Regions from separate parts of the Homo sapiens genome. Here all the other regions are linked to region 1. The links are contacts of gene promoters, found by promoter capture Hi-C in blood cells and fetal thymus (Javierre and others, 2016). All regions are on one chromosome and are shown on one strand. Each heading gives the region's core, a stretch centred on a gene start or on the middle of the fragment in contact. The rest is flanking DNA. Distances are from core to core; before and after follow the strand shown.

Evidence for each region. The method cuts DNA at HindIII sites, captures the fragments that hold promoters and counts their contacts. A CHiCAGO score of 5 or more calls a contact.
Region 2: a fragment that was not itself captured here is called in contact with the fragment with the promoter of SMNDC1 in region 1 in 5 of 17 cell types (fetal thymus, naive B cells, M2 macrophages and 2 more); the score reaches 7.2 in fetal thymus.
Region 3: a fragment that was not itself captured here is called in contact with the fragment with the promoter of SMNDC1 in region 1 in 8 of 17 cell types (naive B cells, endothelial precursors, M2 macrophages and 5 more); the score reaches 8.3 in naive B cells.
Region 4: a contact is called between a fragment that was not itself captured here and the fragment with the promoter of SMNDC1 in region 1, in 1 of 17 cell types (monocytes). The highest score is 5.5, in monocytes.
Region 5: a contact is called between a fragment that was not itself captured here and the fragment with the promoter of SMNDC1 in region 1, in 7 of 17 cell types (M2 macrophages, M0 macrophages, total B cells and 4 more). The highest score is 10.5, in M2 macrophages.
Region 6: a fragment that was not itself captured here is called in contact with the fragment with the promoter of SMNDC1 in region 1 in 6 of 17 cell types (M1 macrophages, M0 macrophages, M2 macrophages and 3 more); the score reaches 9.8 in M1 macrophages.
Region 7: a contact is called between a fragment that was not itself captured here and the fragment with the promoter of SMNDC1 in region 1, in 8 of 17 cell types (total CD8 T cells, monocytes, non-activated CD4 T cells and 5 more). The highest score is 8.0, in total CD8 T cells.

Annotation. Positions count from the first base shown.
Region 1 is chr10:110,302,905-110,307,251 of GRCh38, forward strand. SMNDC1 (survival motor neuron domain containing 1) reads right to left here and starts at 2,016. Exons shown (of 6, transcript NM_005871.4): 1 at 1,844-2,016; 2 at 564-683. The coding sequence starts at 683. RefSeq lists a silencer at 1,528-1,847. The HindIII fragment of the contact is 6,895 bases long and covers 1-4,347 here.
Region 2 is chr10:110,793,319-110,797,665 of GRCh38, forward strand. It overlaps RBM20 (RNA binding motif protein 20), which reads left to right. Exons shown (of 14, transcript NM_001134363.3): 6 at 4,190-4,330. Among named protein-coding and RNA genes, the nearest start is that of PDCD4-AS1, 75 kb to the right of the region's middle. The HindIII fragment of the contact is 5,481 bases long and covers 358-4,347 here.
Region 3 is chr10:110,752,425-110,756,771 of GRCh38, forward strand. All of the region lies in intron 1 of RBM20 (RNA binding motif protein 20), which reads left to right. It also overlaps the pseudogene RN7SKP288. Among named protein-coding and RNA genes, the nearest start is that of RBM20, 110 kb to the left of the region's middle. The HindIII fragment of the contact is 624 bases long and covers 2,318-2,941 here.
Region 4 is chr10:109,872,190-109,876,536 of GRCh38, forward strand. XPNPEP1 (X-prolyl aminopeptidase 1) reads right to left here. Exons shown (of 21, transcript NM_020383.4): 15 at 3,339-3,410; 16 at 1,178-1,238. Among named protein-coding and RNA genes, the nearest start is that of XPNPEP1, 49 kb to the right of the region's middle. The HindIII fragment of the contact is 1,787 bases long and covers 1,278-3,064 here.
Region 5 is chr10:110,734,713-110,739,059 of GRCh38, forward strand. The region is part of intron 1 of RBM20 (RNA binding motif protein 20); the gene reads left to right. Among named protein-coding and RNA genes, the nearest start is that of RBM20, 93 kb to the left of the region's middle. The HindIII fragment of the contact is 2,781 bases long and covers 1,224-4,004 here.
Region 6 is chr10:110,712,815-110,717,161 of GRCh38, forward strand. The region is part of intron 1 of RBM20 (RNA binding motif protein 20); the gene reads left to right. Among named protein-coding and RNA genes, the nearest start is that of RBM20, 71 kb to the left of the region's middle. The HindIII fragment of the contact is 1,973 bases long and covers 1,199-3,171 here.
Region 7 is chr10:109,889,689-109,894,035 of GRCh38, forward strand. It overlaps XPNPEP1 (X-prolyl aminopeptidase 1), which reads right to left. Exons shown (of 21, transcript NM_020383.4): 4 at 3,324-3,387; 5 at 2,034-2,138. Among named protein-coding and RNA genes, the nearest start is that of XPNPEP1, 32 kb to the right of the region's middle. RefSeq lists an enhancer at 2,441-2,500. The HindIII fragment of the contact is 945 bases long and covers 1,664-2,608 here.

The DNA of each region.
Region 1 (4,347 bases), core at 766-3,265:
TTTACTGTAAAACCTAGCCTTAAGTCTGAACATCTATGTAACAATTATACAAAGCACTTGTCTCTCTTTAGGCATTTTTGTGGTGTGTTTTCAATACAAAATGTAATCCACTAGCTTTGGGGAAAAAAAAAAGGCACGCATTTTCAAAGAATCTTGTGGTATTAAAAAGAATCTTAAGGTTCTATTTTTCTCCTTCAATCTTTGTTACTTTTTGAACTAAATTTCATTTGCCAGGTCTTAAAAACTAAAAGCGTTTTTCATTGTGAAGTTACATGTACCTCTCGTCTTGAAAATCTGACAGACTTGGAAATTTCTATCAACTTTAGTTTTTAAAAATTATGTAAGCACACAAGATTTATATAACAAAGAACAATATTTCACTCTGATGTACAGAAACCTGAGAACTGGGGAAGCAACCCTACTTCTACAAGCAATGGTACCTACAGAATTTACATATATACATAGGGTGGGGTGTAACCCCTCAAAAGGCGCTTTGGGTACTTAGGGATTCAAGCAATAATTTGAAAAACAGAGAAAAAGTACAATTGTCTACCCATACTTACTTGTAAATCTTTCTTCAATTTTAGCAAATCTTCATTTTCTCCATTTCCAGATAATGCAGCTTCAACTTGCTGGAGCTGAGCTTTGTAGCTTGCCAGCTGCTTTGCTAAATCCTCTGACATCTAGGGAAAATAAAAAGGGTTAGACCATGAAAACTAAACCAAAAATCAAGGCATAAAAAACTAACTCCCCTGTCTGCCTGAATTACCAGTTTTTGCCTCTAACTCCTTCTAACACTGCAGCTTAATTTACCACCATTACCTTTACTCTCAGTTTAGACTTCAGCTAAACCACAAACTTAAAGGCAACAGATTCTGAGGATTATAAACTTGAGATACATTCCATACTTTAAAAAAGCATACAGATACAAAGAAATTTCTAATTTTCTTTTAACTCCTATCCACAGGGTAGGTGCTGAATTCGGCTCAATAATCAGTGTTATCTTTTTAAAAAGCACTACTCTGTTGGAAAAGTCGAAACTTTCAAAAACAATCCAAATACTTATTTTTAAGCACTACAGTATGCTTCCAAAGCCAAACAAGTGCGTTTTTAAATTAACTACACAAACTACGATCTTTACTTGAACTATTCAATTAAGAGTGTATTTAAAAGTGCCTCTCCAAAACAAAAATCTTTCGCCCAGTCGCTTAAATATTTATCGGTGCATTATCTTCAGCAAAAAGAACAGCACAGGTACTCTCCCATTTAGGCATTCTAACGAATGTGCCTTTCGCCAAATCCAGCTCAGTCATTTTCCTGAAAATAAGATACCAATTAACCTTTTTTGATGGTTTATAAGCAAATGTACCACGTTTCCGAGGACCCTTCTCCTTCGTAAAATTCCCGTCCAACCAAAGGCTGGGAGCCTGCAAAGGCCCCCTAAGAGTTACAGCGACCCAGGCTGCTCTCCTCCCCGCCACGCAGCACCTCAAAGCCCGCCACAACTCGATCATTCGGACGTGGAAATCCACACGCCAGCTCCAAGACCACCGCCGGAGCCCCGCCGCGCTCCAACAGGCAGGCTCCACAGGGAGCCGCGCGGCGCCCAGCCCCACCCGACCCGGTCCCCTGCGGGCCGTGTTTGCCGCCGCCGCACGGAGGCCAGCGCCGGCCGGGCCGCCGAGGCTCAGCTCTGGCTGAGAGACGGCCGTGGCTCCGGGATCCAGGGCCAGCGCCTGGGCGTCTCCGGCGAGGCGGGCTCCTCAGCCTTGGGCCTCCGCTTCACCTCGGGAGGGACCCGGGCCCGGCCAGGCCTTACTCTCTCCCTCAGGGGGGTTGTTACCTTGTGTGGGGCTGGGGGCGGGGCGGCGGGAAGGGGTCGGGGCAAATGAGCCCAGTGGTAGTGGCGGTGGCAGCAGCAGCAGTAGCAGTAGCAGGAAAATCACCGCGACGACAGCAAGGCGACCCGGTCTGAAAAGGAAGAACTCGGTCGGCGGCGAGGGGGAAGGGAGGAACGCCGGGCACTGGAAGGAGGAAAAGACAGAGACGGTGAAGTCTCGCGAGAAATACAAACTCTCGCGCGAGGTCGCTCGACTCACGTGACTCCGCGCGCCCTCTAGCCAGTCCCTGGCTGTCAGGGACACGAAGTAGGCGGGGCCTAGGAAGGAAATGGCGTAGCTGGGCTTCGCCAGGCGCGGAATGCAGGTTATCTTCCTGGAGTTCCGGCTTGGAATTTATTGGAAATGCAAATTCTCAAGCCCCACCCCAGACCTCCTGAATCCAGAGACTCTTGTTTTAATAAGCTCACCAGATGATACCAATGTCCGCTGACGTTTGAGAACCACTGCTTTTCCGGGGCGGTGGTGGTGGGTGGCGGGGGGTGTTGGTGGGGGCTCTCTTTACGTTGCCCTGGCTGGTCTCCAGCTCCTGGGCTCAAGCTATCCTCCTGCATCGGCATCCCAAAATGCTAGGATTACAGGCGTGAGCCACCGCGCCCAGCCTGAGAACCACTACTTTATATGATACAAGCCTTAGTAGTAACAGAAAGCTAATTAAATCGTGACAGAAATAACCTATTGGAGAGAAGATTGATTTCTTTAAAATCTGTTTTGTTAAAACCTACTTGGTTTTAATTTAGTTGGGTTAATCTCGCCTGATAGGGAACAACGTCCAAGTTAGTCTAGAATGGTAAAGAGTGGTAGGAATACTCACATTTGTGTTCAAAAAGAAATGCCCCTTGTGTATGTTTGTAATAATATATACGCTTTCTGGACGGATACACAAAACTGTTCAGAGGTTTGGAGTGGAAGCCAAATGTTTTATTGATTACCCTCTTTGCTGTTTACCCTTTTTCCTTTTCTTTTTTTTTTAAACCATATATATATAATTTATTTCAATTAAAAAAGCAATAAAGGCCTGAGACACAAAGTTTTATATAGATGACAGGAAGCAACCTTTCCTGGGAGGTTGGGAGTTTGTTGCTGGATCCATAAAAAGGCCCACTTCTCGCGGATCACCTGAGGTCAGGAGTTCGAGACCAGCTCGACCACGTGGAGAAACCCCGTCTCTACTAAAAATACAAAAAAAAAAAACCAACAACAACAACAACAACAAAAAGCCGAGCATGTTGGTGCATTCCTGTAATCCCAGCTGCTCGGGTGGCTGAGGCAGGAGAATCGCTTGAACCTGGAGGCGGCGGTTGCGGTGAGCCGAGATCGTGCCATTGCACTCCAGCCTGGGCAGCAAGAGTGAAACTCCGTCTCAAAAAAAAAAAAAAAGGCCCACTTCTCAGATGGGCTCTTTTGAACTGTGCCAACATCTTTAGTTCCTAGTTTTCTTTTCAAGGAGCCTTCCCTTTTGTTCTCTACACACACACACATAACCCTTGCAGTGAGTCAGATAACCTGTATAGATGGAAACTAGGTCGGGTTTGTGAGTGTGAAAGATTGAAATTGCAGCAGAGGGCAGCAGTGTGTAGCTAGAATTAAGAAGGCAGACAAAACAGAAAGCATGTGCTTTTAAATAAATATTCGTTTAAAATAAAATGTAGTTTTAGAGAACTTCTGTTATTGTAATTGTGTGTTTTAAGAACCGATGCGAGGAGGAACTTCCTTGAATATAAAGTCAACCTTATTGTGTAAAAATCTCTTAAATGAGAACTTTTCCTGAACCCCATAGATCAGAAAATAGGCAAATATTCATTATAAGTTCCATCATAGATTTCTATACCATCTTAATAATTTTTTCAGGATTGTTTTTAGGATTGTTTTTATCTATGCAACATTCATTTATAAAGAAAAGCTATATTGAATTTTAATTTTCACAAAGAAATAACAGTTTGTATGTGCCAGATACCATTCTAAGCACTTTACACAGGTTCATTTAATTTTCACAATTGTATGCGGTGTTGCTCCAGACAAAACTGGAGCAGACAAAACTAAGAGCAATACTTCAAATAGGCTTTCTGAATTACTATTTCCTTTGAAGTGTCAAAATTTACTTTCAGTGTCTGATTTTTCTTAAAACATTTGCATTCAAACTTAATCATGTTTATTTAAAAAAAAGTATCTTAAACCTTTAGTTTTGAAACGTGATATTTATTTTATTGAAAGACAGTAAATAAATAAAATGTAAAGGCTCCAAATTGTCATCAGAATATACAGCTATTTCCTTTCTACTAAAGAAAATTAAAGTATGGCATGATGGCACCCAGCTACTTGGAAGGCTGAGAAGGGCATCCAGAAGTTTGAGGCTGCAGCACACACTGACTGTGCCTGTGAATAGCCGCTGCATTCCAGCTCGGGCAACATAGTGAGATCCTGTCACAAATTTTAAAAAATTAATTTT
Region 2 (4,347 bases), core at 1,848-4,347, 490 kb after region 1:
GCATCTTCATATTTGGAAAGATTTTATCTGCCAAAGTACTTGTATTAATGAGTAACTAACTGGTGACCCATTTTTATTAATCAAAGACAGAGACACACCAATTAGACTTTCTGATTAGCCTAAGAGCTAACCAGTGTTAAAAGACAAATTGTAAATGAATTAAATTTAACAGAGTTTAATTTAATTGGGCAGCCCTCAGAACCGGAAGAGGTTCAGAGAGCTCCGCTGCACCACGTGGGCAGGCAGCATTTATGGGCAGAAAACTGAAGCCAGATACAGAAACAGCTTGATAGGTTACATCTCCGTATTTGCCTAATTTGAACATGGTCTGATCGTTGGCTGCCTGTGATTAACTGAAGCTTGGCTGCTGTGATTGGCTGAGACTCAGCTATTTGTTAGAAAAGTACACTACTTCAGGCTTTCACCTAGGTGATGTGCTAAGTTAAAATGCAGTTCCTTACATAAGAACTCAAAGTATGGAGGCATCCTCAGGCCAAATTGAATTTAACACCACATTACCATATTGATAAAGAAATTCAAAGTACGATCTCAACTCGCATTTTTCAATGTAAAGAATAATGTTTAGCCCCCTGCTTCCTGTGGTATTATTACCTTTGAAGACCTTTAAGGGCTTATAAGAGAGCCCGGGTTGGGAATTACTGCGTAGCATGGTGACGCTTGCTCAAGAGCACTCAGGATTGCCGGTGCCCCTGATGTACAAACTGTACTTTTGATGTACCACTCAGGGACCTCACTCCGCCTGTTTCCCTTCTCACTTTCCTCCTTCGCTCCCTCCCTTTTTCCCTCATGATTCAGATCTCCCACAGGGCATAGGGCAAATAATAGCCATGTTTATGTAAAGTGTAATGAGAATAGAATAGAGTGAAAACAGCTACTATTCTACATCTTGTATGAATCATATATGGTTTTGAACCTAAATGGAGTTCAACAACAACCCAAAGATATTTCAGATCAATGGCAGAAAAGAATTTGATGAACCATCCTAAATAAAATATTGGCAAAAGAATAGAACACATAAAAATTAATTTATCTTTCTAACTGGATAGGATTTACCACATGCCCTGAAGCCAGACACCACACAAAAGCAAACTATTAACCTAGAGATTCTCAAGATTTTCATTTCATGGCTCACTTAGAAAATAATCTGCTGAAGTAAATGGTTTAACTGAAGAAGCTACTCATGATCACTGGAGGAACTTGGCCTTCAGCCTGAGGGATCAATATCTTGGCACTCCTATAACCATTTGCAGTTGATGTAGCTCATAATTGGAAAGCTCCAAATTACTATTATCTGGAAGAATACTAAAAATCTCATTAGTGTCTTAATAAATGACAACAAGGGAATTGGTAAAATCCAGCATCTGTTTCTGATTAAAATCTTGGAAGAGAAAGAACTCAGAAGATGTCTTTTTAAAATTTGACTGGAAATTTTAATTGAGACCCATTCACTTAGTGCCTTTGGTAACGACATCTTCAGCATGAATGCTTCTCTTCTTTGGTGACTGGCAGCTGCGAGGTTGTTTTTTCTACTACCCAGCAGCAGCAGTTGCTGTGCTATGTTCCAATAAAAGCCTCTTGAGTTGTCCTTTCAGTCTGGAGGAGACAATGAGAGAGGCACTGGCCCTCATGCCTGTTCACTAGGCAACTGGATAGGCCAGGAGCAGGATAGGCCTGGAACTGCCTTGGGTGTCTGCTCCATTGTCCAAGCACACATTAGCACAGGCCAACCACAGCAAAGTCACATGGGGCAGAAACGTGCCTCGCTAAGAGACCAGGCAGAGCACCTAGCCTCAGCCGTCCTTGTGATAAGCTCAGAGGACCAGCCACTCTACCCTGCTTGAAAGCTCAGCTGTGTCTGCATCTTTAAGTGAACACTCACACTAATGGGAGGCAAAGATTCTGCTTCTTAATAGCACTCCTCCTTTCGTTTCTGCAGAAGGGTTCAGTCCTCACTAGCCAGGCTCAGACTCAAAGTCTCCTAGCTGATGGAGAGTCCATTTGCACTTTAGGAAGATGAGGAGCTGCTCTGGGAGCTGCCTGAATCCTTGCTCCCCTTTGGGAAAGTGCTTGACCTCTGGACATTGCAGAGTGGGAGGTCGGAAAGAGGCACTTGGGCTTCAACAATTCAGGGCTGAACCATAAAAGGAAATTCTTATTGACTGTAATTGTTTTCAGCTCAAATGAGACAAATGAGGGCTTTTCATGGTAGAATTACCCAAGTATTAGCCCTTGTTAGGGGTGACATCTTAGACTTTCCCCCTGTATTACCTTAGCAGAGTCGGCCCCACATCAAATGTAATTAGATGTAGAAGTTCAGTTTAACATAGAAAATTGTGATTATGCAAATGGAGACTATGCTATTAGAATGTGTTTCAGGTTCGGAAAATTATATCCTTCTCTTCCACATTGGGTTGGCTTATGGTTACTAATTCTTGACCCTCCCAGAGATTCCAGGCTGATTAAGGTTTGCACAAAACAGACAGACACACTTCCTCCCTCCAGGAGCTTTGATTAGGGCCAAATGTTGGCTTCCAAACTGTGTTCCTTAGAGGTGCCTTTGAGACTGCCAGGTGGGGGTCGTGCCAGGGTGCCGGACCCCAAGGTTTGACCAGAATAGCTCCTCTTTTATTTGTTGAATACATTGGGATAAACCAGTTTTGTTTGAAGAAAGGACTCCAAGCTAAAAATATTTCGAAAACCACTGCCCTAAACCACAGGTTTTTGCTGTGAATATCAATGCATATGTATTAGATTCCCACAAACTTTCTATGTTCTTTTTTCTTTATTGGAATTGTAAGTCAAACAACATGAGGTATATATGAAGAAGGTTCAGCATGTCTCATCTTACTGCCTTCCCATTCTGCTTCTCTGAAGATAACCAGCATTGACAGGTTGATATATATGCTGCACATCTTTGTCTGTATGTGCTGATATTCTTTAAGCATTTTTTATTGCAAAAATTTTTAAACATACGGAACAGTAGAGACCAGTATAATTAATCCTTGTATACCCATCACCCAATTCCAATAATTATCAAAATTTTACAACACTTGCTTCATCTGTCTTTTTTCATATATTTTTGTTTTCCAAAAATGGCATTATAGTACACATACCACTTGGTAACCTGCTTTTAACTTAACAATCTGTCTTAAAAAGTATTTCATATCACCAAGGTGAGAGAATCACTTGAGGTCAGGATTTCAAGACTAGCCTGGGCAATACAGCAAGACCCTGTTTATACAAAAAATAAAAATTAAAAAATCAGCTGGGTGTGATGGCTCAAGCCATCAATAGTCCCAGCTATTCGGGAGGCTGAGTCGGGAGGATGGCTTGAGCCCAGGAGTTCAAGGCTGCAGTGAGCTATGATTGTGCCACTGCATTCTAGTCTGAGTGGTACAGGAAGACTCTGACTTCTTAAAAAAAATTATTCTATATCAGCACATTTACCTCCTTCTTGTCATGGCTATGTAGTTTTCAATTTTATGATTGAGCCATCCTTTACTCAAACATTTCCCTATTGTTGGACATTCAGGCTGTTCCCCCAATTTTTTGCCACCTAATAAATTACTGTAATAAATGTTCTTGCACATGAGCCATCACATATTGGGGTGCTATTATTTCTATAGGATACATTTCTAAGAGTGGAATGGCAGGATCATGGGCTCTGTATACTTTGTTTTATTTAATATTGCTAAAGTATATTCTCAAAAGTTTACAGATACTCAACCTCCCACTAGCAACATATGGATATGTGCATTTCCTCATATCCTCCACAGCCCTCGTTGTTACTGCTTATAAAAAACATTATTATGAAATGGTGGTGCATGCCTGTGGTCCCAGCTACTTGGGAGGCTGAGATGGGAGAATCACTTGAGTCTGGAAGTCAAGGCTGCAGTAAGCCGTGTTTGCACCACTGCGCTCTAGCCTGGGTGATGGGAGTGAGACCCGGTCTCAAAAATATATATATATATAATGAATCCTTTTGTAAAGAGATAGAATAAAATTGATATTTTATGTGTGTCTGTGAATGGATTTTTTCTGCATTAATTTTGTAAATTATAGTTTTACAATCATTGTTTAGGGGAAAGATAGCCATTAAGAACGTCTGGAAGAGAGGGGAAAAGGGAACCGTCTTCTGAATACCACTAATGATCTTTGTTCCCATTAGTTTGCACAGCGGAAAGGGGCTGGCCGTGTGGTGCACATCTGCAATCTCCCTGAAGGAAGCTGCACTGAGAATGACGTCATTAACCTGGGGCTGCCCTTTGGAAAGGTCACTAATTACATCCTCATGAAGTCGACTAATCAGGTAGGTCTGGGTACTTT
Region 3 (4,347 bases), core at 1,380-3,879, 450 kb after region 1:
GTTTATTTAGCCATTCACCTGCTGAAAGACATCTTGGTTTCTTTCATGTTTTGGCAATTCTGAATAAAGCTGCTATAAACATCTGTGTGCAGGTTTTTGTGTGAACACATGTATGGATTTTTGATCTGCTAAACACTGAACTAAGAAGATTTCTGGATATAGATGTAGTTGAAAGGGATAAATATGTACTTATTTTTTTCCAATGATTTTTCATTGTAAAATATTGCATACACACCCAAAAATACTTAAGGCATCTATGCAAAGTTTAACAAATAAAGCAAACACCTATGTATCTATCACTGGGTCAATAAATGGGATGCCCCTGGCACCCAGAAGCCCTCGAGGGTCCCTCAGCCATCCCAGCCTCCTTCCTCACTTACACCTTTGTGTAATTTCCTTGCTTTTCTCTATAATTTTACCACTTGTGTTTCTATTATTTTGAGAGTTACATGCTCTATTCTAGAAATTATAATACATATATATTATATATTTATACATATATATATATATATATATATATATTTTTTTTTTTTTTATGAAGTCTCCCTCTGTTGCCCAGGCTGGAGTGCAGCAGTGAGATCTCGGCTCACTGCAACCTCTGCCTCCCGGGTTCAAGCAATTCTCCTGCCTCAGCCCCCTGAGTAGCTGGGATTGCAGGCGTGCGCCACCATACCCGGCTAATTTTTGTATTTTTAGTAGAGACGGGGTTTCACCATGTTGGTCAGGCTGGTCTCGAACTCCTGACCTTGTGATCCGCCTCGGCCTCCCAAAGTGCTGGGATTACAGGTGTGAGCCACCGTGCCTGGCGAAATTATAATATTTATACTGACAGTCTAAAGTTTATCAAAGCTTTCATTTCCCATAGAGTAACTCAAGGTCCTTGGAACACTCTAAAAATGTTTAACCACTCCCAACTTATTTTCTCTCATTGTTTTGTATTTTAATTCTATATTTTTAAAGAACACCAACAAAATATATTGTTCTACACAGTGGAAGTTCATTTGGATTTACTCATCATGCATCTGTCACTTTCTTTGCTCTTCATTCCTTTTTGTGTTTCCAGTCTTCCATCTGGGATCACTTTCTTTCTGCCTGAAATGTAATCTTTAGAATTTCCCTTGCTGGTGAGGAACTCTTTGCGTGCCTGAAAACTCCTGGATTTCACTTCACTGTGGCAGGGTATTTGTGGCAGTTGTCTTAGTTTTCACTGGTTGCTGTAACAAATTACCACAAACCTGGTGACTCAAAACGACACAAATTCATTCTCCTTTGATTCTGGAAGGCAGAAGCCCATCATCAGTTTCCCTGGGCTAAAGTCAAAGTGTCTGCAGAGCTGCGCTCCATCTGCAGGTTCTAGGGGGGAATCTTTTCTTTTCCCAGCATTGCGATGCTGCATTCCTTGCATTGCTTGATTCATGGCCCCCTTCTCCATCCTCAAAGACAGCAGCCATTGTAGCATCTCCAAATCTCTCTCCTGTCACATCACCTTCTCTGTGTCAAATCCCTCTTTGGCCTGTATAACACTTCTGACTGCACTTAGGGCCCACCCAAATCTACCCATCTAGGTTATGAGATCTAAATTCTGAGATCCTCAACTTAATCACACCTGCAAAGTCTTTTTTGCCATATGAGGTAACACTCACAGCTTCCAGGGACTATGACCTGAATATCTTTGGGGGTCATTCATCTTTCCTCATCAGAATTATAGATTTGTCATTATTTTCTTTCAGCGTATTAAAGATATTATTCCACTGTCTTTTGGCTTCCATTTTTGATGTTGAGATATTTTTTAGTCTAAGTATGATCCCTTTTAAGATAATCTGTATATTTTTTTCTCTAAGCTTTTCTCTTGGTTTTAATCACTGTGATCACTGGTAACTACGATGGGTCTAGGTGTACATTCCTTAACATTTACTTTGCTTGGGATTCTCTGGTCTTTTGACCACTTAGTGTCTTTCAATAGTCCTGGAAAATTCTCAGCTTTTATCTTTTCCATATTACCTCATTCCCATCCCCATTGTCCTCTTTTGGGACTCCAGTCAAATATATGTTGGGCCTTCTGACTTATCCCCTATAGTCTAAATCCACTCTTCTGTGCTTTCCATATTTTTGCTTTTGATGCTGTATTTTGAACAATTTCCTGTGATCTAACCTCTGGTCCTTAATTCTCTCTTCTATTGTTTTTAATCTTTTGCCAAACACTTCAATAAGATTTTCATTTGTTTTTAAATTTTTCCTTTCTAGAAGTTCTGTTTGATTCTTTTCCAAATCTACTAAGTCAGTTTTTACAGTTTTTGGTGCTCTGCAGATATTTGCAAGCTTGTTTACTTTTTCATGTGGTTAGCAAATATAAACTTACTGAGTTTGCATCTGAAGTGTGTCCAGGTCGGTTTCTGCTCTCTGCTGTTTATGCTGGTTCTCACTCATGTTGCCTTATTTCCTTCTATGCCTGATGATCTATTTTCTGATACGCCTGACAATTTCACTAGTTATTGCCCGTAAAGAAATTATGTGTGGAGATCCCCTGAGGCTTAGAATGAGTGTGCTCTCCTTCCTCTGGTTGCCTTTTGGAGTCACTACAAATGAAATTCATTGTCCATGTATGATATAGAACCCTGGGGTGCAAATCTGGATGAGGGCAGGCCTCTGGTCACATCTCAGGGGTAATTTTATCCCCTTCCTACTTCCTCTCTTGCTTTGCTCAGGTTTCTCTCTGGGCCTATGGGTTTGGGGGGGACAGGAAGTGACATATTACTCCTGGTTCATCCTAATCCTGAGGGTGTGGCCCTTTGGGACCCAGCTTACTGTAGGTATATGTCTCCTGTAAGAGTCTACATCAGATGTGCTCTGGGCCCTGACATCTTTCATCCTTACCCCTTTGATGTCTGCAAGGCAAAAGCAGCTTTGGCACTCAAATCATCCTCGAGTCTCTTTAGGTTAAAGCTTTCTCCCTAAATCAGCCTGGTAGGGATGTGCTATCATTCAGCTCTTCAGTGTTTTTATGGTTACTTACTCAGAGTTGTTTTTAGCTGAGGGCTCATCCAATAATTCAATCACCTAACCTTCCCTCGTAGGAAATAGCTATTACATTTCTATTGTGTAAAATTTTACAATTGTGTTTAATATTTATTTACAATTTAATAATTGTGTTATGTGTCTTTAGGAAATTTAGAAATTTACAGTGCAGAAAAAATCAAGGGAATGTAGGGCCACAAGTTTTTATTTGCTTTAAGATATTAGTAGCCACATGGGATATTGACCTGGTGTCCCATCTTGGGGGAAAAGGTGAGAGACTTTTACTGGTTGCACATTAACACTGGGGAATGGAAAAGCCCATCTTGTTTGATGCCATCTGTTGTTTCCTCAAGGGGTAACTTTAATTGGTTGGCCAATAAGTTTCATCCTTGCCTTAAAAAAAATGACCACCAAGGGAAAACTACTCTTAGCTGGCTTCCCAACCACCTCAGCCTGGCCCTGAGCTGCCCTGGAGTGGCCACCATCCAGCCCCTTCAAGTTAGGGCAGCTGGCTTTGATTCAGGCTGTGGAGACAGCGTTAGTCAGCAGCCTCTTCTCTCATGCATGCCCTGATCTTTAACGCTCCAACGTGCATCTGTGACAATGACAGCGGATTCCTGACTGTGGCCATGGCTCAGGATACTTCAGTGGATAAATTTGGGCCAGGTTTGTGAGTCCCATCTTTGGGCTCCCCTCAACATCACGATTTAGCCAGTTGGTGTTGGATCACGATTTTAAAACTTTAAACCTTGAGTGTTAAGAATGAATTCTTGACTGTTCAGTCCTCATATCCCAGATTTGGATGGAAACCTCTGATGCTATAATCAACATGAGGAAAAGCCTGTAAATCATTTACAGATTCAGAAAACACTTAATGGACTTCTCCTCTGTGGAAAGCACCATGCTGGGTATTGTGGCATCCGTGCCCTCAGAACGCTTCTAGTCTTTTCCTATACAGAGAACACAAGTATGCCCACCTAAGAGAGAAGCTGAGATTTAGAGGAGCCACTGAGGATGGCTGTGAAAGTGATCTGGCTAGGATGTTTGTCATCCCATTGCTCACGAGGTTTGATGTGGCTGATCCGCCTAGCTGGCATCTCTTCCCTCCTCATACCTCAATGCACATTCCTCCCACATCTGGGCTCATGGCAGTGAATGTGACCTTTCTGTCCAGAGGAGTTCTATCATTTGGTCAAGGTAGGGAGGTGATTGTGCTTCTCTGTTTAAGACTTAGCAAAAGACAAAATGCAGAAAGCCTGAAGGTGGGAGCTAATCTTTCTGGCTGTCACCAGGTCTTATACAACCTTGTGGTTGTCACGATATATGCATCAG
Region 4 (4,347 bases), core at 921-3,420, 430 kb before region 1:
GAGCTATCCTCTGTGCCACGCACTATTCTAAGCACTGTATGTTTGATCCCACACTTCACGATGGAGGCACTACTGTTATCCTCGCTTCACAGAGAGATTCAGTAGCATGCCCAGATCACACAGTGCCTAAGTGGCAGCATCTGGCCTTGGAGCCAGGCACTCTTGCTTCAACAGCTGTGCTCCCTACCACCATCCTATCTTCAGGGGTTATCCCCACTGTCCGGACAAGAGAAGTGCTACTCAGAAGTGTAGCAGCTTGCCAGTAAGGTGCAGAGTCAGGACTAAAACTCCATGCTCCTCAGCCTGGTTGAGCTCTTTGAAAAGCACAAAAAGAGTCACACCAAAAGAATCCTAGACGCAAGGTCCAAATTCTTCTAAGGCACTGGTGAATACAAATGGAAAAGGCAAGGGACCAAGACAATGAAACCTGCCCCACTACATTGCATAAAACCCTTTTCCTTGGATAATCTTCCTGAAGGAGCTCTCTTGGACAAACAGATTCACTTAGGTGCTCAATCAGCATTTGCTGAGCAGTGACTATGATCCAGGAACTTGCTGGGCTCATGGGAATTCACAGCCACCCGGGAAGGTGGGTCCTTTTATCCTCATTTTTATGGATGGTGACTGCTTTGTTCAACGTCACAGAGCTAGTAAATGGCACAGAAGCTCTGAAGCCAGGTCTCCAGACCCCTAGTACACATCTCTCTGCCTCACAGCTCTCTTTCCCCTTTCCATGCCAATCATACCAGAAACTTAATAGAGTCTGTCATTTCAGAAAGTTTCCAGAGAGTTAAGCCTGTAAATAAGAATCTCAAAAAAAGAAGGGGGTGGCCTTCAAAATCAAATCTAGGCACTGCTTATAAAGCATGTATTTCACTCTCTCATCCCCAGCCTCAAAGGCATTTCCTGACTCAAGAGAAGGCCAAAGCTATTATATTTAAACTTACACCTGAGCTGCCCTAACCTTAGCAGAATGCTTTAAAAATTTCTCCAAATGTCTTATTCCAATAATTAGTTAAATGAACCTCGTAAAGCAGATAAGCCTGACTCCACAGCAAGGAGCAATTTTACTACCCCACATGTAATTTTTACTTCTTTATACAATCCCTTTTCATAAAAGCAATGCTCTTCTTAAGAAAGCAGAGAGGACCTCTTGAGTTTTTTACCTCCACCTTACCTTCTCGTAGGCTGTAGGGGTCCCAAAATGCATTGTCCGCGTCACATCTGTGGTGCCATCCCTTTCCAAAAAAAGGACAAATTGGTTTCCCGTCAAAATAAGCTTTAAGTCAAATATGACACAGGCAAGCATGTGGACAAGTGAGAAGCCCCATACAATGCTGGTGGGCATGTAAAATAGCACAGCCATCTTTGCAAATAGTTCGCAGTTCCTTAAAAGGTTAAATATAGTCACCATATGACCCAGTAATTCCACTCCTAGTTATATATCCAAGAGAACTGAAAACATACATCCACACAAAAACTTGTACATGAAGGTTCACAGCCACATTATTCATAATAGCCAGAAGATGGAAACAGCTGAAATGTCCATCAACTGATGAATGGATAAACAAAATGGGGGATTATCCACACAGTGCAATACCATTCAGTAATTAAAAAGAAATGGAATACTGATACATGCTGCAACATGGATGAACCTGGAAGACATTGTGCTAAATGACAGAAGCCAGACACAGAAAGCCATACATAATACAATTCTATTTCTATGAAGGGTCCAAAATAGGCAAATCCATAGATACAGAAAGGAGAGTAGTGGTTCTCCAGGGTAGTGGAAAAGGGGGTAGTGACCGCTATTGGGTATGAGGTTTCTTTTTGGGGTAATGAAAATGTTCTAAAATTGATTGTGCTGATGGCTGCAAAACTCTGTGAATATATAAAAAAAATTAATTGTATATTTTAAGTGGGTGAATTACATGGTACATAAATTTTACCCCAATGAAGTTATTTTAAAAAATGAAACAAAGTGTGAATGCAGGGATGGCTAAATAAACTGGGAGTGACGTCAGCCCCTGACACACGCATTCTTGGTCTACAGCATAAGGGCTGTTTCACGAGAGACACTATCACTGGGGTTATGAACAAGACAGAAGAAGGCAAAGAAAACAGGAGCCCATCTCTAGCAAAAGAGGGCCAAAACCCAACTTCTCCTGTTAGAACAGCAGGGGGTTTCCTGGACAGAGACCCTAAAAATATCCAAGTACATATCTTAACACACACTAGACTATATCCCTGACATAGAAAGGATAACTTCTAGAATCCTGCTAAAAATTTAGAAGTGAAGAAAAGTTTACACCATTATCAAGCAATCCTTAGCTCTAGGCTGATATTATTAACACCCCTGTGTCCCAAGGCCAGGCATGGTTGCCACGTAATTGGCTGAGCTCATTCAATAATTAGGTCCTCCCTTAGCCATAGTCCCAACTTCAGTGGGGAATGGAGCAGCACTAAAAGGTCTTGCTCGGCTGGGCACAGTGGCTCACGCCTGTAATCCCAGCACTTTGGGAGGCCGAGACCGGCGGATCACGAGGTCAGGAGATCGAGACCATCCTGGCTAACATGGTGAAACCCCGTCTCCACTAAAAATACAAAAAATTAGCCGGGCGTGGTGGCGGGCACCTGTAGTCCCAGCTACTTGGGAGGCTGAGGCAGGAGAATGGCTGCAACCCAGGAGGCAGAGCTTGCAGTGAGCCGAGATCACGCCACTGCACTCCTGCCTGGGCTACAGAGTGAGACTCTGTCTCAAAAAAAAGGCCTTGCTCGTGCCCTCTTAATGCAGACAGGGTCTATTCTTACTCCTTCTTTTGGGTTCCGTATCAAGACCCAACCAAATCTTGGGTTCTTCTCTGAGAAACTTTGTTCCAGAGATGATAGCCGTGAAAGCAGCAAAACATGGAGAAAGAAATTCAGAAATGTGGGGGCAGCCCTCATTTCTCATTTATTCATTCAAAATTAATCCCTTACTTCATAAGGCCCTGGGGCAGCTGAGAGTACAGGGAACCGGCAGGCGGTTCATGGGCTGGGGTGGAAAACTTTCAACGGTTCCAAAAGCTTGCTTTACTTCACAGTTGTTTACTTATATTTTTAAAACTTCCAGCCAAGGACTGTAACATTTCTATCAAACAGTCTTTTGTGAGAACAGAGTCACAACTGGGCTATTTCAAATAGGGGTGAAAAAAATGACAAGACACAGGAACGATTCCATTAGTGGCCAGCACAGAGGGCGATGACCAGCTGAGTGCTCTCAGCTGGAGCTCAGCTGTCCACCTTCTCCACTGCCTCGAATCCATAGTCAAGTTCCACAGCAGTCCTGGTTTACTTACTTGTATTGAGCACCCGAGTCAATAAGGTACACCTCATCCAGGGACAAGGTCCTATTCGTCTCAGGGACTGGCCTAACAAAGTTAATTAAAAATTAATTATTCCACAAATGTAAACACTTAGTGAATCTGGGAGGAGGACACACAAGAGCTCTTTGTACTATTCTTGCAACTTACATAAGCCTGAAATTATATCAAAATAGAAAGTTATGCAATAATGAATTATTTCAACTAATATTAAACTTCTACTTTTCAAAGATCCAATCAACCTATCTCCCCAGCTGAGATAAAGAGCTCAACAAAGGAAAAGTAACACATTTCTTTATGTCTACCTCTGTTTGTGTCTGAAACAAAATAGGTGTTCAAGAGATAATTCTAAAAGCTAAAAAAATGAGAACGATTAGATGCAACAGGACCTAGCTAGAGTCCTGGGAACTGGGACAGGAGCAGCCTGGAGTCACTGCAGCCTTGCTTGTCTCTGGGAGCCCCAGGCCCCTGCCTCAGCCTCCAGGCCCCTCCTTCAGCCCTGACCCCAGCAGGTACCTCCCCACTCGCTCCCCAGACTGCTAGACAGGCAGGAGTGGATGTCTCAACTTGGGAGAAAAACTAAAGGAATTTTGCTGGGAAAAGGAATGGATCACGATATTCTTCTGCTTCAAACAAACATGAGGTATTTTCAAAAAGTGATCTCTTTCCCCACACCGTTTTCAAAACAATATCACTGCACTGGGAAACACCCAAAGGGATGAGAGCACTCCAAGTCTCTGCCCTGCAGCTGAAGTGAGGTTGTCCTCCATTTCCAGGTACCACCCCCTCTTCAGCAATAAGGGCACCAGTCCACACACAAGCTGAACAACTAAAAAAGACAACCAGTACCTCCAGAACCCCGCCTCTAAACAGGCTTCCAACCACCCACAATGAAGAAATGCCAACGCAGAGGCAAATTTCTTCCACTGGCATGAAACTGTTTAATGTTTTAATTATACGGAAAATTCTAGGATAGTATCCAGCC
Region 5 (4,347 bases), core at 1,364-3,863, 430 kb after region 1:
CATTTGTAAAATAGGGCTCCTGACTCAGTTTCTTGGGTCTCTTCCCAGAGATATTCTTTATTTATATACAGTGCTCCCCACTCATGCCCCCTGAATCTGCAACTTTACTTTCCACAGTTTTAGCGACTTTTGGTCAACTACAATCTGAAAACGTTAAATGGGAAATGCCAGAAATAAACAATTCCTAAATTTTAATTTGTGAGCTGTTCTGAGTGGCGTGATGAAATCTCCTACTGTCCCACTCTGTTCTTCCCATGACGTTAATCATCCTTCTTCCAGTGTATCCACAGTGTATACACCACCCATCCTAGCATCACTTAGGAGCCATCTCAGTGAGCAGGTCCACTGTCGAGGTATCGCAGGGCTTGTGTTCAAGTAACCATTATTTTCCTTGATAACAATCCCAAAGCATAAGAGTAGTGATGCTGGTGATTCAGATATGCCCAAGAGAAGCCATAAAGTGCTTCCTTTAAGTGAAAAGGTAAATGTTTATTCCAGGTATATATAGGAAAAAATAAATAGTATATATAGAATTTGGTACTATCCAAGGTTTCTGGCAACCAGTAGGGGTCTTGGAACATATCCCCCCATTGCAGATAAGGGAGAACTACCATAAACATGTATCTGCATGTATTTTTTTTATGTGGAAAGGAACATATCATGCATACTGTCTAGCCACCATACTTAACTTCGTTTTGACAATGTGTCTCTGAAGAGATTGTAGCCTGTCTGCACACAAGCCTGTACCTTGCGCTTTTGTCCTGATTGAATAGTGTTCCATTGTATAAATTATTATAATGTGTTTTCCGAGCCTCCTGTTAATCTAGATTGTCTCTGATAGGTTACTATTACTGACAGTGCTGCAGTGAGGATCCTTGCACACCCATCTTGGCATGTATGTATGAGTCCATCGGAAGGATACATTTCTGTAAATAGGATTGCTGGGTGAAAGGTATATTTGCTTTTGTTTTGATGAAAACAGTCATCTAGCGCATGAGCATGTCTGTTTGCCCCATCTCAAGGTTTTATGCCTTCTAGTTAAGCATCGGCTACTACATGTAGAGCTCAGGACACTGACCCATGCACGAAAGGTACATAAGTCAAAGTTACTAATTAACATGTATCTTAGTAGGAGTTTGGGGTATTTGTTCAGGATTGCTGATCTCATGGCTAGATTAGTGAACATTCACCCCAAGAGTGAAAGGCTCTGGAATTTAACCACAAGCTTAGGCTTTGAAGATATGGTATCTCCCACCCATCTCCCTCTGATGGCAGATTAACTAGGCGGTGGGCAGAACCAACCCTTCCACACGCCAGCCTGTCTTCCTTAGAGAGCACAAGTGCATTTGCCCAGAACATTCACACTTTCAGACCTGGAGATGAAACACAATTTTTTGGCAGCAAATCTCAAATAACATGTATTTAGGATTACAAAGTCACAGTTTTGCAACCAGAGGGCTTGGGAAGGAGTTGCTTAAAGCAAGAAAATTGCAATGCAGTTTTTACAAAAATTAAAGATATAAAGTCCATCTTCCCAAATTACATTCCACACATTTACTTCTCTACAAATGCCATTTGCACACAATATACCCAGTTTGCACTGAATTCCATTCCTTGCTTCTTTTTCCCTTCTTAGTCACACACTATCTGTGCGTGTCAAGACACTGTTGTATAAAACTGCTGTATAGAACTAGGTATTTTATTTTGTTTTGTCTTTGCTTTAAATTTTATACACTTTTTGGATTAGGTCATTGAATACTTATCCTGTTTTCATCTGAATTTTCTTGGGAGAGAAAATTTAAATATTTACCTTCATCTTAAAAAAAAAGAAAGAAAGAAACCAATCCAGATGACAGAAACTGAGAGGGACATGGTGGTTGCAGGTGTCCGTGTGTGCTGGGAATGCAGAAACATGCCTGGAGCAGTGGAGGCTGTGCTCTGGCTCTGCCAAACACCCTGTGGGCCTATTGAGATCCACCACCACCTAATGGAGGAATTGCCTTCTTTCCTTTTTTTCAGTAAGCTCTTCATTGAATGCTATGGTTTGAATGTTTGTATCCCTCCAAAATGCATATTTTGAAACCTGATCCCCAAGATGGTGGTATTAAGAGGTGGAGCCTTTGGGAAGCAATTAAGTCATGAAGGCATGAGTGGGATTAGTGCTCTTATAAAAAAGACCCGGCCTGGCGCAGTGGCTCACAGCTGTAATCCCAGCACTTTGGAAGGCCGAGGTGAGCAGATCTCCTGAGGTCAGGAGTTCGATACCAGCCTGGCCAACGTGGTGAAACCCCATCTCTACTAAAAATACAAAAAAATTAGCCGGGCATGGTGTTGCGCGCCTGTAATCCCAGCTACTCGGGAGGCTGAGACAGGAGAATCACTTGTACCTGGGAGGCAGAGGTTGCAGTGAGCTGAGATAGTGCCATTGCACTCCAGCCTGGGCAAGAAGAGTGAAACTCTGCCTCAAAAAAAAAAAAAAAAAAAACACCCCACACACACACTCAAAAACAACAGAGCTTGTTCACCCCTTCTACCATGTGAGTGGAGGCAGCAAGAAGGCACCATCTATGAGGAAGTGGTCCTCACCAGGCACCAAATCTGCTGGTGCCTTGATTGTGGACTTCCCAGCCTCCAGAACTTTGAGCAATAAATTTCTATTGTTTTTAAGTTACCTGGTCTAAGGTTTAGCAATCTGAAATGACTAAGGTCCTAAAGTATAATGTATAGAAATAATGTGTGAACAGCTTGATAAATTTTTACACAGTGAACATATCCCTAAAAACCTGCATCCAGATCAAGAAACAGAACACTACCAGCACCCCAGGAACAAGTGGCTACCTTTTGAGTCACTCTTCAGCCTCTGACGATCTTTAACAATGTTGACCTCTCTGAAGATAGATTAGTTTGCCTTTTTTTTTTTGAGTTTAACGTAATTGGAATGATATGGTGTATACTCTTTTGTGCCTAAGTTTCTTTTACTCAGTTTTATGTTCGTAACATTCATCCATGTTGTAGCAAATAATTATACCTGGTTAGTGTTCGCGGCTGTGTAGTATTCCATTACAGGAATACACCACTATTTATTCATTCTACTCTTGATGGATATAGGTTGTTTCTAGTTTCTGGCTATTACAAAGAATGTTGCTGTGAACATTTTTTACGTGTCTTTTGGAGAACATATGTACACATTTCTGCCAGGTATACACCTGGGGTGGAATTGCTGGGTTGTTAAATTTCCTTACTGGGGCCTATAAGACCAGGTCTTGCCTGCTGCTAGATTCTTGTCATCATTAATCATCATCTATATGCCAGGCACTATGTGAGGCATTGGGAATAGTAAGGAGCAGAAGCAGATGTGGTTTCTGCTTTTGTGCCAGCATTAATTAAGCAAACACCAAGGTAAGGTGGTGTGATTGCCATGGAGGTAAGTGCTGAAGAGGAAAGAGGCAGGATCCCAGGACAGCTTACTGTTAGGTTTTTTAAAGGGAAGGTGAGGGTTAAAGAAAAACAGAGAGAGAGTTGGCGGCCCTACAGCAAAACATAGGCTTTATGTCCAACATAAAACCTGCAGAGGTTGGGGGCCAGCTTAATGCCAGTGCCCACTGCTGCTTACAGGCTGGGGCAATTATAGGCCTGAGCAGGAGGGGTCTGGGGGGAGCATGGCCTGCTGCCTGGGAAAATGTTGATAACATGTTCCCACGATGAGGTGGTTTGGCCCTTGTTCTGGTGGAATGTGATGTTCCTTGCCCTTTCTCCCAGCAAAGTCAGGCAGTTGGTCAGGCTGTTTCTCACGGCCCGAACCCCCCGTGGAATGTTTCACTTTGACCAAGGTCTGTGAAATGACAGGGAGCTTACGAAACGGTGCAACTTGGACTAACACTTATGACATAGGAAGTGGATCTGGGCTGGGGGAGAGGGTGGCATGGAAGGGGGGCTTTCCTGAAACAGTGACACAGCTGAGATTGGAGGGATGAGGAGAGTATACCAGGGTACGGTGAGGGAGAAGCTTCCCAGGAAGCTGGAAGAGCACGCGGGGCATGTTCCTGGAGCTGAAGGAGTGCCAAGGTGCCAGAGCATGGAGGCGGGAATGGGGATAGAGGAGGTGGCGAGGCTGACATTGGGGTTGGGGCTGCAGCCTTTGTGCCTGTGATGGGAGCCCAGACCTATAGCTGTGAGGTGTGTTGGTCTGAGAACTCTCCAGATCTCGCCTTCCTTGCAGATTCGTATCACAGCAGAGCAGGAAGGGCCCATTCAGCTACAAGAATTAGTAGGAAGCATTTGAAATGGTCCACAGCTGCTCACAATCCTTAAGGGAGTTTATCTGTAACTGAGAGAGTATGGGGAGGT
Region 6 (4,347 bases), core at 935-3,434, 410 kb after region 1:
ATGTCATGAGTGTGTACTTAATCACCTGGACTCCACTATATAATCTGTTTGGCATAAACTGTTTTTGCTCTTTTCTGTGATTCCCCAACACATCTATTACACCCTCTGTAGAGTATCTTAAAATGGTTGCCGTCATCCTGGGTCACCCCTAACTTTGGCGTCCATATTTGTAAAGTGTCTTTTCCTTCCTCTTTGACTGCCTCAGTTTCCCCCAGAATACCTCTTGTGATGCTTCTTTTGTTCTGTCCACTCCCTCAGTGCTTGCTCTATTCTCCCTGCTCTTTAGGGCTTTTAGTGTGAGAATCACAGAAGATAAGTCATTGACATACATACAGGCTTGACTAACGGGGCAGATGCAGAGAAGTGGATTTTTATGGAAAATATATGGAAAGAAACCTGGCCAAAGAGCCATCACTAGGATTCCAGGTCTGGCGTGGCCACAGATCTGCTGTGTGGTCCTAAACAAGTCTGCTACACAGAGTAACGTGCACTAGGCTTAGCTAGTATTATAACTGTTGCTGGTTATTAGATAATCTTTCCTGGCCTCAGTTTCCTTGCTGTTAAGTAAGGAACATGGCTTGAGTGATATCCTGAGTCCTCTCCACTCTCATTTTAGGTGCAATACGATTATAACCCTGACTAGGATAAATCACTAGGGAACAAAGATGAGGCCCTAAATCTCCTGTGTCCCTTATGACACTTTGCACGCTACAGGGGCAGAGTAGTCATTTAATAATTCAGTACTGCAACTGGGTTTTTAGGGCATTGCTGAGGAATTTTTTATTATCTAAATATATGCATTACTGGCAAATTAAAGAATAAATGGACAAATTCTACTCAGCATTTGTACAGTGTTTTGAAAGAGACTCACATTCATCAATTTAATGTCAGCCTCGCAACCATTCCCTAAAGTAGGTAGAGCACATCTGACCTCAATTTATGGATAAAGAAATGGAAGCTTAGAGAGGGGATTATTTTTTTCAGGTTTCCCAGCTAGTAAGTGGCAAGTCTGGAACCACAATCCCGGGCTCCTTATCCCTGTGCCAGTGCGTTTTCCAGCCTACTAAGGACTACGTTTTTGGGCTAGTTGGGAACAGTAAGAAATACTTCATTGTGAAGACTGATAATATTCAGATGTATTAATCCCTAGAAGATACATGGCCCAAAGGATCATCACCCAGGAATGTTATTAGAATGAAGCTTACCCATCTCCTGTGAGGACCTGGCTAAGCAGATCTGTGCCTGGAGTTACAGTCATGGCAGTGCTCCTGATTCTGAAGATGGGCTATGGGAAGAGGACTTTGGGACATGCTAAGCCTCCTGAGTAGACACTTGAGCCTTGGCATAGTTGGGATTAGGGAATGGTAGGAGACCCTCTTAAGAAAGAAAAGAGTGTTCCCTGACTCAAGAGCCTCATGAACCTGGGTCTTGCCCATGCTGGGTAGCTAGAAATGTAACCATATCTGCAGTTCTTGGAGGTCAATGAAAAGGTTGTGTAAAGGAGTATTGTTTGGCAGATGTCTCTAGTACCATTGCTGCAACAAATAAAGCTGGCTTAGCACTGGCCTGTCTGAAGCTGTGCTCTGCAGTGGTTGTAGTCATACTGAGCTGACCACCTGACCATCTAGGCTCCTAGGAACTGCTAGAAGGGCCAGACAATGAGGACCCAAGAGCTTCCAACCCAAGGTACTCCTAGAAGATCCCATTACTTGACAGCAGCAACTTCTGCTTCTAGAACTTGCTGAGAGACCTGCTGATGAGAGCAGCTGCTGTCAGCTGTCAGGAGGAGCTGCTGCCCCAAGAGAGCAGGAACAGCCTCTGGGAGCTGTGGGTGGCCCATGCCCAACAGGAGTCACCAGTAGGAGCAGCAGATAGAGTACCAGGTGAGGCAGTCCTTCCTGGTTGTCCTCAGCCCCTTAGAATTGTTGAGAAGGGGCAACATGGTCCATCTTCCAAGAAGAATCCTTCCCTAGTAGTTGACCTGGTTGGAGACCCAGCAGCTCAGGGTGGAGGCTCCAGCTGGCTTGAATTGTCTCCTGGTCTTCAAGTCACTTGTTGGAGGGGTGGCCCAGGGAAAAAGGATTGCCTTCCCAAATGATGTTGATGAAAATAATATCTGTAATCCAAAAGGTTTTTAAAATGTAATTTATTGCCTGGGAGCATTGGTTCAAGCCTGTAATCCCAGCACTTTGGGAGGTCGAGGCAGGCAGATCACGTGAGGTCAGGAGTTCGAGACCATCCTGGTCAACATGGTGAAACCCCAACTCTACTAAAAATACAAAAATTAGCTGGGCATGATGGCAGACTCCTGTAATCCCAGCTACTTGGGAGGCTGAATTGGGAGAATCGCTTGAACCAGGGAGGCAGAGGCTGCAGTGAGTCAAGATCGCACCACTGCACTCCAGCCTGTGCGACACAGTGAGACTCTGTCCAAAAACAAAAACAAACAAACAAAACAAACAAAGAAAAAACCCATAATTTGTGAATATTCGTACTTCTATACTCCATCACTCTTTACTGACTAACTCCCAAGTGGAAGTGAATGTTTCCATCTTGTGTCATCACACTGTCTGCAGCACTTTCATATCAGCCATGCATGTACTCCTTCATCAGATGTTGGTTGAGTACTGTAGATGGCTCAGGCCATCAAATGTCAGTTTTCCTTTGCTGCATTGTACTTATGTACATATCTTAGCCCTCCACTAGACTAAAGTCTTTTTTGTTAAGTCCTGATAGGTTAGGTTTATGCTGTAGCCACAAAACCCCAGAGGTTTAATACAACAAAAATTTTATTTCTCACTCATTCACAAATCCTACATGATTTGGTTGGGTGAATATTGAGGGGCTGCTCCATATGATTCCTCAGGGACTCAGGATGACTGGGGTTCCACCATCTTATAGCTGAGCTAACTGGAACATGTGGCCTTGATCACTGAGATGGGGAAGAGAGAGTACTGAAGGGTCTCACCCCTGCAATTACATTGCAATTACAATTACAGTACTGAAGGGTCTCACCCCAGCCTGGAGATAGCATCACGTCTACTCACAGCCCATTGGCCATAACTAATCACATGGTCCCCACTTAACTACAAGGGAGGCAGAAAGCGTAATCCCCCTGTGTGCCCAGAAGAAAAGAACTAGATGAGCATGAGCACTAGAAGTCTCTCCACAAGCTTTTGATTATGTTCTTGGTTCCCTCACTCACTTGCAGCAAAGTTGTCTCAGGAAGTATCACATTCTTCATTTGTAAAAAGGGGATAATGTAAGTGATGAAAAGTCAAGTATGTATTGCCAATTTTCCAGTTTGGAAAAGACTAATCAATAATTTAGGCATCCTCTGTGTGAAGGTCTTGGTCTTTTCTCTTTCCTAGTAATGAGGAGGTAGAATGGTAGGTGCGTAATTAGGGGCAGAAGCAGTCCCCTTAGAAGGCCCCAGATGTCTCCCTCCAGGGCAAGGCTTAGCCTCATTTCCTGCCATAGAACAACTCCTGCAACTGCATACCACCCTCACCCCAGAGCCTCAGGGCACCTGGCTTCTCCTGCTCTGTAGGCCTATATGGAGGCCCATTGACCAGGTCTCAATTATGTAACATCTGGCCTAATTAAACGTGTACTGTTTACCTTTATTCATGCAATTGCCATTGAAAGAGTAGGATTTGGGATTGGGGTGATCTGGGTGATCTAATATTGCAAGTTATTATGTCCTAACTTGGAGTCAGTGTACAAGAAACAATGATCAGAGTTCAGAAGACAGTGGGTATTTCAGTATGCATATTCATGGGGAATAAATGACTGGAGTATAGAGTAAAAGAATTATGGCTGGGCGTGGTGGCTGATGCCTGTAATCCCAGCACTTTGGGAGACCGAGGTGGGCAGATCCTGAGGTCAGGAGATCAAGATCATCCTGGCTAACAAGGTGAAACCCTGTCTCTACTAAAAATACAAAAAAAAAATTAGCCAGGTGTGGTGGTGGGCGCCTGTAGTCCCAGCTACTTGAGAGGCTGAGGCAGAAGAATGGCGGGAACCTGGGAGGTGGAGCTTGCAGTGAGCCGAGATCGTGCCCCTGCACTCCCGCCTCAGTGACACAACTCCGTCTCAAAAAAAAAAAGAAAAAAAAAAAAGATTTAAAACATGGAAAATTTGAATTTACAACTGTGCTTGTTATCCTTCCTGTAATTGTGTTTTAAACATCGGTTGATTGAGTTTTTTTCATTGTTTGTTTGGTTTTTGCATAAAGAAATGTTTGATATCACATTTGTCTTGTCCGTGTTTCTTGTGACAGGCCCCAGCACTAGTGTGGCAATCCTCAACTGCAGGCTTCTGAGGACAGAACTGTGTGCTGCCTGC
Region 7 (4,347 bases), core at 886-3,385, 410 kb before region 1:
TTTGGCCAAACAATTAACATCTTGATAAAATATACATATATTTAGAGTAAAAGTTCACATATTCTAAAACAGTAGAAACTTATCTTTACTATTTTCTCTACTGACTACTGATACAACCACATAACCATAGAAGGGAAGTGCAAAGGTTTATAAAGAAAGAAGCTCATGAATTCCAATTCTAAAAAACTGCCTAGAAGCTGACATTGAGTTTCATTCTGCTATTTGATTCTTTCCTATTTTTTTTCAAACCACTAAACAAGCCACTTATTAATACAGTTTCTCCTAATGCCCTAGTACACTACATAATATAACTTTCACAGGATGAAGTCATGTCATTTCCTAGCAGACAGATCTTCGGCAAAACCCCAGGGATGAATCACTCACTGGCCAACCAAACCCACCAGAATCTCCCTACACAGAAGACTCGACTGAGGAAACTAGGAAGGAGCCTGGAGGAGAGGAGGACTCACTCCCTCTGCCACCCCCTTGCTGCCACATACCTACATTAAGGAACAGGCAGGCAGTGTTTGCGCCTCTGACCCCCAAAATGCTAACAGACTTAAGAGCTGGAATCCGTGGGCCCCAAAGAGAGATGCCTGCTCCCCAGGGGGACACAATGATCTACTGGGTGCAAGAAGAAAGTAACAGAGCTTCTATTTGTATTTATTTTTTATAAAGAAATTACAAAGTTAGTTTTTGATATTTGGAATATAGAGGAACACTAGCACATATAAATAACAAATAAACAAACATACATACATGTTGCGGGTGCTTGACTCCCATTAACAGAAGCACACAAACAAAAAAATTTAAAGGCCACTAGCTTGTCCATTTATAACAGCCAGCTTCAAATGCCTGCCTTTGTGTGTGTGTGTGTGTGTGTGTGTGTGTGTGTGTGTGTGTGTGAGAGAGAGAGAGAGAGAGAGAGAGAGAGAGAAAGGGAAAGAGAAATCAACTGCAGCAACAGGCAACAATCTGTAGCTTTGGTGTTTTTATATTTATGAAATGATTTTTGAGAAATAGAAACTTAATCCAATGCCAAGACAAAAATGTTCCTTGTTCCTCCCTAAGACAAAGAACACATGTGTGTGTATGTGGAGGGTGTGTGGCATACACCTGAGTGCACACACCCCTCAGTCAGCTGGCTGCCTGGATCTCAAGGTCATGGTCTAGTCCTCTGTTTCCTGCTGTGAGTCTGAGGACTATTTTCTTTCCTCATTATTTCCTACAACAAACAAGAAGCATCAGGTATTTTGTTTCATCTTCTCTTTCTCACTTGGCCCTTCCTTATCTTCTGTTCTCCAAGTTCAAAATTCAGGAAGCAAAGACTTTGTACAGTCCCTAAAACCGTGTTTCTAAAGACTATTTTAATGACAGGAAAGTACACACGGCAGAAAATTAAATGAAAACACAGAGTATATACACACATTATTCAATAAACATTGATCTATATGCTTTCCACATAGTAATGCTTTAATTCTCACCACTTTATATGTTACTTACTGTGATTAACCCATTTTACAGATGAGGAAACTAAAGCACTCAAGTGAAGCGACTAGCCCAAGCAAGTTCCAGACCTGTTCGCTTGTCCTGAATGCTGCTCTTCTCCAGAGCTAAGCTTCCAGAAGCAAATCCAAGATCCTCAGAGAGAGCCTCAGGGGAAAGCTTTCTGGCTTCTGTTGCCAATGACTCCTTGCCTTTATCTCACTCTGAATCATGAGGCAGCAAATAGTAGAAGGCCCCCAGTACAGGAGTGAAATGCACAGCAATGTGATCTGCAGCAAATCAACTGTCCTCTCTAGCCCTCAGTTTCCCCTCAGTAAAATAAGTATCCTGAACCAGCGTCCTCCAAAATTGAATGCACATTGGTACGTATGTATAGGCATGCCATTTTTTTTTTTCTCAGTTTTCCTTGGATTCTCAAAAGGGTCCATGACTGCATAAAAGGATTAAGATCCAGGAGTCCTGAGGACCTCTAGGATCCCTGCCCAGATCAGGCCAACTAAGTTTGGGCTAGCCATGCCTGTACCCACCCATCTTCATAAGTGTCCAGTTGCTGTCCATTTGCTTGGCAGCCTGGAGAAAGTAGCGCCCGTCAGTCCACATGGCTGCATGCTCTTCTGTGATGATGGCTGTGCCTGAAGCAGGGGAGAAAAAAAAAAGAAGAAGAAAGGTTTCTAACAACTGCTCAGAAGCTGCACAAAATGACAGTAGACAGGCAAGAGCAGTAAGAGGCATCAGCTCCTAGTGGGGCAGATGGGTCCTTGACTCCAAAGAAACCTCTGGGCAAGAGAAGACCACACTACTGAAAACAAGCTGTGTGTCAAGCTCTGAAAGAACAGTCCTGAGACCCAAGCTACCTGGCACTGGTCCCTGCACAAAAAGGACTCCACTTGCACAGTATGAGTCAAGAACAGAGAATGGAGAACTGTAGACCTATGGCCAAAGTGGTCTCGTATAATCAACAAGACACAGGGAGGGATGGTTCCTGCTCAGCAATTACAGCCACTCCTCTGCTCCACCAGACACCCCAGGGGAGCTGTTTCACCTTTCCTGGAGAAAGACCAAGTGGGCCCTATGAGTGTTCCTGCTGTGGTCACTAGCAGGAAGCTTATGCCTCCTACCTTTATCTGCCCTCCGTTCCCACAGGCCTGGCAGAACTTGGGGTTTTGGCAGAGGTGTCAGCCAAAGCCAATCCTAATGCGCCAACCAACACAAGCACTTACGCCAAAGGAAGCAGCATGCTAACCATGAGGGGAGGGGAGCTCCCACCTTGTCCAGCTTGCTTTAGAGAACAAACCTGAAGTGGGGAGTCCACCCTAAAACTCAAAGGCATAATGGTTTTGAGGAACACCAATGCAGCTTAGAGTTAACCTTTGTTATTTAAGCCAAGAGTGAAAACAGAAACCAAAAGCCAAGCACTTGGGAGAATTATCTGGGACCAATAAGCTAAGAGAGGAGGTTCTGAAACTATATTAAAGTCTCATTTCTTATTTGGGGTGCTAGTAACACAGGTATATTCAGTTTAATTGATAGAACTTTTATATGTATGTTATATTCAATAAAAAGTTCAAAAACTTTTTAAAAATAAAAATTGTTAAAACTTTGAAGCAAAGATACAGAGAGGAATAAAAAGGGTTACTGAAAGGTGACCTTGGGGAGCAGGGAAAGACTGGGAACCCACACCTTTCTGCAGAGAGTCAATGTGGAGCATCTGGTTTGCATTTTCTTTTTGCTTCTATATCACAGGCTGAAACTCGGTTCAGTTATTTTTAGGAGGCGAACAAAGGTGCAGCAAGAACAGAGAAAAAGTAGTGACTCACCCGCAGAGCCATCGAATCCAGAGACAAAAGCCCGCCGACAGTCACATGGAGCAATATACTCACTCTGGAAAACAAAGATGACAACAAAGTGGGCCTCGATCAGTCATGAGCAGACTGTTCTGCCTGCTTAGCCTTGTGCTAGGCTCAGCGGGGACTATGAAGACTGGGGAATCCTTGGCCCCCGCCCTCAAGAAGCCAACAGTCTAGCTGAAAACAACAGATTAGCACACACTGCAGAAGATTGAATTAATTAAGGGCAGAGAGAGCTGTTCCCTTTAGCCTCTATTTCCTCATTAGGAGAACCAAAGCACATCAGGAGAAACAGATAAAAACTGCTCTTTCTTCACTGAGATCTTACTCAAAAATCAAACCAATAATAGCCTTCTCCCCTCCTTGCCACTGACATTTAGGCATCTGTTATTTTTCTGAAAAGTAAGGCTGAATTTCTGTGTTAAGCACCAACAATTCCCTAACTTAAGTTTCTGTAGATACTGACTTGTTTCCAAACTTCCTGTTTGGGTCCTCCTCTGAGGTAGCATCACCAATCTCTCCCATGCAGACCCTGTCCCTTCCTGCTACAGAGTGAGCGGAAACGCTTCATCCAATCCAGGAGGCTTCAGCAAAATAAAATGTCATGTCCAAAACCAAGGTCTTCTCAGCTGATAATCCCCTTGCCTCTGTATGGAAGGGGTTAGGGAGTGAAGAAAGTAAGAAATTCTTACGCGTGGGCAAAGGGTACAAGTCAAAGTGTGCAACTTCTGGTAATAGCCAGTGAGGCACAGAGAGTTTAAGTAACTTGCCCCAAATCACACAGCTAATTAAGTAGCAGAGGCAGGATTTGAACCTAAGCAGTCAACTCCAGAGTCTGGACTCTGAAGCCCTATGCCAGGCTGCCAATGCATGACACTTTATCTCTCGCCCTCATCACTCTCTAGGATAAGACCAATAGCAAATGAGAAAACTGAGGTTCAAAGAGAGAATCTTTAAGTAAGCTGCCCACTTACAAGTTAATAGTAGGTCAGGA